2 separate regions of the Homo sapiens genome follow, and region 1 is linked to region 2. The links are contacts of gene promoters, found by promoter capture Hi-C in human tissues and cell types (Jung and others, 2019). All regions are on one chromosome and are shown on one strand. The core of a region is centred on a gene start or on the middle of the fragment in contact, and the rest is flanking DNA. Distances in the headings are between cores, read along the strand shown.

What was found. Contacts are between HindIII fragments. The study calls those that stand out against the background at their distance.
Region 1: a contact is called between the fragment with the promoter of CBFB here and a fragment that was not itself captured in region 2, in 4 of the 25 tissues and cell types used here (dorsolateral prefrontal cortex, liver, lymphoblastoid cells and 1 more).

Annotation. Positions count from the first base shown.
Region 1 is chr16:67,027,017-67,030,578 of GRCh38, forward strand. CBFB (core-binding factor subunit beta) reads left to right here and starts at 2,133. Exons shown (of 6, transcript NM_022845.3): 1 at 2,133-2,469; 2 at 2,711-2,797. The coding sequence starts at 2,392. RefSeq lists an enhancer at 1,396-1,535 and silencers at 2,096-2,285, 2,376-2,615, 2,866-2,915. The HindIII fragment of the contact is 10,821 bases long and covers 1-3,562 here.
Region 2 is chr16:67,330,373-67,333,729 of GRCh38, forward strand. The region is part of intron 1 of LRRC36 (leucine rich repeat containing 36); the gene reads left to right. Among named protein-coding and RNA genes, the nearest start is that of LRRC36, 5.2 kb to the left of the region's middle. The HindIII fragment of the contact is 7,189 bases long and covers 1-3,357 here.

The DNA.
Region 1 (3,562 bases), core at 883-3,382, 300 kb before region 2:
TAATTCTGTTTTTTTAAATAAGTGAAAAAAAATTAACAACCAAAAAGGCATATAGAGGTCAGCCGAGGAGATGGCCTCCTTCAGCCTGTGGCTTATTTCCCGGTCATCCTGGCTGTTGGATGCCAGACTACGACGAGTGTGGGTTACCCTGTGGCCTGGAGTTGCCCAAGGCTGTCTGTGGGGCTGCTGTTCTGGGTCTGCTTGGCAGGCTTTGCTGTCCCTTTCCCTTAGGACATCGTTCCTCCCCTCCTTGAGGCTGACAATGAGAGCGCCCTGCCCTGCTCTGCACTCCCACCCCTCCAGGTCTAGCTCCCTTGACCCTGACCTTTTCCTTGCCTAAGCTCATGGCCATCAAGGCCATTCTAGAGATCTTTCAATTTTTATTTATTCCACATTTCCCATGGCAGAAACAATTATTGCTAGAGTCTTTGGCCAAGATCAACTTGGAGGTCTGTGAGCCCTCCTTGGACCCATTGTGGAGCAAGAGTGCTTCCTCATGGATTTTTTTTCCCCCCGAGACGGAGTTATGCTCTTGTTCCCCAGGCTGGGGTGCAATGGCACGATCTTGGCTCACCGCAACCTCTGCCTCCCAGGTTCAACCAATTCTCCTGCCTCAGCTTCCGAGTAGCTGTTTGAGACGGAGTCTTGCTCTGTGGCCCAGGCTGCAGTGCAGTGGCACCGTCTTGGCTCACTACAACCTCCGCCTCCCAGGTTCAAGCGATTCTCCTGCCTCAGCCTCCCGAGTAGCTGAGACTACAGGCGTGTGCCACCACACCCCGCTAATTTTTGTACTTTAGTAGAGATGGGGTTTTGCCATGTTGACCAGACCGGCCTCGAGCTCCTGATCTCAGGTGATCAGCCTGCCTCGGCCTCCCAAAGTGCTGGGATTAGGCCAGGCGCAGTGGCTCATGCCTGTAATCCCAGTACTTTGGGAGGCCGAGGCGGGCAGATCACCTGAGGTCAGGAGTTCGAGACCAGCCTGACCAACATGGCGAAACCCCGTCTCTACTAAAAATACAAAAAAATTAGCTGGGCGTGGTGGTGGGTGCCTGTAATTCCAAATACTCGGGAGACAGAGGCAGAAGAATCACTTGAACCCAGGAGGCGGAGGTTGCAGTGAGCCGAGATCGCGCCATTGCACTCCAGCCTGGGCGACAGAGCGAGGCTCTGTTTAAAAAAAAAAAAAAAAAAAAAAAAAAAAGAGGGCTGGGATTACGGGTATGAGCTACAGTGCCCGGCCACAGGACTAACTTTGAATCAAACTCTGCCATAAATCCCATGTCAGACTTTCTCCAGTTTGGGCTAAACAACTTCCCTAGAATTTATGGATCTTATTTTTTGCAGCTGATTGCACATTGAGTAAGTATATGGACTGGCAATCGGTTACATTCTTAACTCAGCTTGTTCTTCTTTAGAAACTTAAATTTATTGGGCTCCCACTGTGTGCTAGACCCACATAAAGGTTCTCACGCTAACACTGCAAACCTAGGAGTGTCTGCATTTTGGAAATAAGGAAACTGAGGTTTAGTGGTCCAATTCTTATCTAAGGCCCCAGCCAGCAGGTAGTGTAGCTGAGTGGGATCCCATCTAAGACCCATCTGACTCCAAAAGCCACGACCTTTCCACCATGACTCGGTTGGATTCTTTGGTCCGTTTCCACCTCAGTCTTCAACGTGCAGAGCCTACACCCCTGCCGGTCGGTTTAGGGACGAAAAGTCCCCAAGGACTTAGGTTTCCTCGCGTTCAAGTGACAATCTGGGGTTACTCCGCGCACCTGGGGAACCCAGAAGTTCCAGATGACCGAGGAAGGGCGGTAGAAAAGGCCTGCGCTGGCTACTCCCGTCTGCTAAAGGCCAGGCGGATCCCCCAACGACAGCTCCACGCCGAGTGGCCGCGGGCGAGCAGGGGGAAAAGGGCCCTGATGCGGAAGGAGCCCCGGGGCGCCACAGCCAGGCCGCTCCGCCAGCGGGCGGGTGGCGCATGCGCGGCGTGGGCCGCGGAGTTGTGAATGGTGCGTCTTGTTTGCCGGAGTTGGAGGCGGGCGGGCGCGCGAGGAGGAGGGGTGGGGCCGGCGGGGGCGGGGTGGGCGGTGAGAGGAAGTGGCGGCGGCGGCGGCGGCGGCGGCCGGGGGCGGTGAGCGCTGGGGCTGCGCGGGCGGCAGGCAACGGCTGAGGCGGCGGCGGCGGCGGCGGCGGCGTGGGTTGGGCTCGAGCGGGCGGCGGCGCCTCAGACTCCCCGGAACGGGAGCCCACGCGGGCGGGCGCCTGAAACAAAGGGAAGCGGGCGTCCGGGCGCCGCGGGTGGGCGGTCAGTCGGTCAGCGCGGAGCCAGCCAGCGGGTGCCCGCGCAAGCCCCGAGCGCGGCCGGCCGGCGCGGCCTCAGGGCGGGAAGATGCCGCGCGTCGTGCCCGACCAGAGAAGCAAGTTCGAGAACGAGGAGTTTTTTAGGAAGCTGAGCCGCGAGTGTGAGGTGAGGCAGGCGGGCGGGCGGCTAGGAGGCCGCAGCGCGCCCCGAGTGGGCCCGGGCGGAGAAAAGTTTGGGCGGCACGGTCCCCGGGAGTCCCGGTCGGTGCGCCCGCGGAGGGGCAATCTCGCCGGGGCGGCCATCGCCCGCAGCCTCTGCTTGCCCTTATCGGCGCTGCGCTGGGAGGGCGGGCGCGCGGGCGGCGCCGCGGATTTGGCTCCTGATTTCGGGCCGTCTTGCCTTGCAGATTAAGTACACGGGCTTCAGGGACCGGCCCCACGAGGAACGCCAGGCACGCTTCCAGAACGCCTGCCGCGACGGCCGCTCGGAAATCGTAAGTCGGCTGGCCCGGGGCGCGCGCGGGTCACTTGTTGCGCGGGGCCGCGGCGGCCCAGGCCGGTTCCGGACGGCGGCGCGGCTGCTGCGGCTCCCGGAACTGAGTGGGCGCCGTCTCACTTCCTACTCGGGATTCAAAATGCGAAACCAGATGCCGCGGGCCGGTACTCGCGGGGAGACGCTTTTCCTGGGGCTCGCCGCGGTGGCGCGTGTCGGCCAACGGAGCACCGCGAGTGGAGCTCGAACCCGAGCCAGACTAAACAAGCGAAGGGCATTGTTTAGGCGGCGACACCGAAGAAGGGTTCAGGGTATTTGTAGCAAGCAAACCCCCATTCGGAAAAAGAAGTGGAGCTTCATTCAAGGTCGGCGATAGTTTGTTTCTTAGAAGGTAGATCTGTCGGTAATTCTCTGTGTCAAGCGGTCTCACTACCAGATCGCCGAGTAGAAATCTTTCCTCCAGTTATTTATTCTAATAGAGAGGGGAGGGGGGGGAAAAGGCCCTAAAAATGTCATTTTCTTAGAATGTTAAGCTTCAGGAGAATCAGAAAGAAACCATTATCCCCATGTCCTGAGTAGGGCTGCTGTTCCTAAAAACTGCACAGATGGGCAAAACCCACGGTTGATCTCGAGGTCCTTGTTTTAGGAGGCAGATTTAGTGCGTCTTCACCAGACCTTGGGTTGAAAAAAAAAATCCAAGGGTCCTAGTTCCTCTCATCTTTTTGGTTTGCCTTGTTGGAGGTGCTGATGAGGAGGGAGTGGTAGG
Region 2 (3,357 bases), core at 224-2,723:
GAGAAATTTCCTCACATCAACTGTTTGCTTATCCTGAGGTACAGTTTGTATAGGAAAGGCAGCATAAAAGCTTGATTTGTTTTCACCTTATATGCCAGCTTTCAGAATGATGAGTTATTTTCTTAGCATTCTCCAAAGGTGACCAGTGAGGACTGTTTTGCTTTCTCAGTATCATTATAAACTCATCGATTTAAATATATGTCTTAGGGCTGGGCATGGTCGTTCACGCCTGTAATCCCAGCATTTTGGGAGGCCAAGGAGGATGGATCACCTGAGGTCAGGAGTTCAAGACCAGTCTGTCCAACATGGTGAAACCTCATCTGTACTAAAAATACAAAAAAAATTAGCCCGGCATGGTGGCAGGTGCCTATAATCCCAGCTACTCAGGAGGCTGAGGCAGGAGAATCACTTGAGCCTGGGAAGCAGAGGTTGCAGTGAACTGAGATCGCACCACTGCACTTCAGCCTGGACGAAAGACTGAGACTCAGTCTAAATAAATAAATAAATAAATAAATGTCTTAGTCCCTTTTCTCTTGTCATAACAGAATACCATAGACTAGGTAATTTATAAAGAACAGAAGTTGATTTGGCTCATGGTTCTGGAGGCTGAGAAGTCCAAGAGCATGGTGCCAACATCTGGTGAGGGTCATTCCATGGTGGAAGGGCAGAAGGTGCATGTGTGAGATGTGAGAGAGAAAGAGAGAGAGAGAGAGAGAGAGAGAGAGAGAGAGAGAGAGAGAGAAGACTGAACTAATTCCTTTATTAGGATAGCTAACTCCCGTGATAACTAACTCCATGATAACAGCATGAAGCCACCGTTGACCTAATCACCTCTTAGAGGCCCCACCTCGCAGTGCTGTTACATTGGCAATTACGTTTCAACATGAAAGCTGGGCATGGCGGCTTACACACTTTGGAAGGCCAGGGAGGAGGATGAGGCCAGGTATTTGAGACCAGCCTGGGCAACACAGCAAGATCCTGTCTCTACAAAAAATTTAAAAATTAACTGGGTGTTGGTGGTGTGTACCTGTAGTCCCAGCTACTCAGGAGGCTGAAGTGGAAGGATCCTCTGACCCCAGGAGTTTTAGGCTGCAGTGCACTATGATAGTGCTACTGCCCTCCAGCCTAGTTGACAGAGCAAGGCCCTATCTCTGAATAAATTAATACATTTCATCATGAGTTTTGGAGGGGACGTTCAAACCATAGCAATATATTTCAATGTAAGTTTTAATCCATTATAGTTCTTATCATAATTGATGTTCAGTTTATCCTAACTTTAGTTAATAGGTGATCTTTCAAGTTGACTCCTGAGGTCTTTTTAAAAAAGTTTTATGGCCAGGTGTAGTGGCTCACGCCTGTAATCCCAGCACTTTGGGAAGCCGAGGGGGGTGGATCACCTGAGGTTGGGAGTTTGAGACCAGCCTGGCCAGCATGTTGAAACCCCATCTCTACTAAAAATATAAAAATTAGCTGGGCGGGGTGGCACATGCCTGTAATCCCAGCTACTTGGGAGGCTGAGGCAGGAGAATCGCTTGAACCCTGAAGGCGGAGGTTGCAGTAAGCCAAGATCACACCATTGCACTCCAGCCTGGGCAAAGAGAGCGAAACTCCATCTCAAAAAAAAAAAGAAAAAGAAAAAGTTTTATTTATTAGAAACATTCATTGTCATTATAAATAAGCTTTGTTAAAGGTTGTTAATTCAATTTCCAAATGAGCTGTAAATGGTTTTCATTAGAGAGACTACTTGATTTGTTATTTTCAAATAGCAAATTTTTGCCCACTGGGGTTATGTAACCCATATATTAAAATTGGAAGATCATTCTTTTATTCTTGGCATCTATGCTGTGCAGTGTTTGATTTGTTCTCTGATTTGTCTTCACTCTTTATAAACACTGAAACGGCCAGGCGCGGTGGCTTACGCCTGTAATCCCAGCACTTTGGGAGGCTGAGGAGGGCGAATCACGAGGTCAGGAGATCGAGACAACCCTGGCTAACATGATGAAACCCTGTCTCTACTAAAAATACAAAAAAATTAGCTGGGCATGGTGGTGGGCGCCTGTAGTCCTAGCTACTTGGGAGGCTGAGACAGGAGAATGGCGTGAACCTGGGAGGCAGAGCTTGCAGTGTGCCAAGATGGTGCCATTGCACTCCAGCCTGGGTGACAGAGCGAGACTCCGTCTCAAAAAAAAATAATAAATAAATAAATAAACACTGAAACGAAATGCATAACCTCTTAAGACATGCATTCATGTGAATCATTAAAGAATGTTTGTCTTTGTGGCAGTTTATCATTTTAATAATTCACATTCCTTCTTAAAATGTTAAAATGTCTGCTCTTCAAAATAGACTGCAGTGAAAGGCATGAGAAATGCTGTGGGTCATTGATGGAAACCATAATTGTCCTTAGCTTTTGTCCCATGTTAACAGACTCTCAGGGTGTTAGATCATAACATACCACAGAATTACCAATACACTGCCCTCAAAGTCAGGAAAATTTTATTTATTTATTTATTTTATTTATTTATTTTTTTTTAAAAAAAACATGGTCTTATTCTGTTGCCCAAGCTGGAGTGCAGTGGCATGATCATGGCTCACTGCAGTCCCGACCTCCTGGGCTCAAGCAATCCTCCTGACTCTGCCTACTGAGTAGCTGGGACTACAGGTGTGCACCACCATGCCCAGCTAATTTTTTCTTTTTTTGTAGAGATGGGTGCATTTTAAAAAGATATAATTCACATACTATAAAGTTCACCGTTTTAGTATTTATTTATTTATTTTGAGATAAGAATCTTGCCCTATTGCCCAGGCTGCAGTGCAGTGGCCCGACCTCAGCTCACTGCAACCTCTATCCCAGGTTCAAGTGATTCTCCTGCCTCAGCATCCTGAGTAGGTGGGACTGCAGGCACGTCCCACCATACCCTGCTAATTTTTGTGTTTTTAGTAGAGACAGGGTTTCACCATGTTGGCCAGGCTGGTCTTGAACTCCTGACTTCAAGTGATCCACCTGCCTCCGCCTCCCAAAGTGCTGAAATTACAGGCATGAGCCACCACACGTAGCCCCATTTAAAAAATATACAATTCAGGGTCATTTTGTACATTTACAATGTTGTGCAAGCATCATTGCTACCTATATATAGTTCCAGAACATTTTCATCAACCCATTAGGCAGTCACACCTCATTTCCCACTACCCCTGGCTCCTGGCAACCAGTAAACTGCTTTCTGTCTCTGTGGATTTGCCTCTTCTGGGTATTTCATATCATTGGAATCATATAATATGTAGCCTTTTCTGTCTGGCTTCTTTGACTTAGCATAGTATTTTCATTATTCATTCATGTTTTAGCATGTATTAATACTT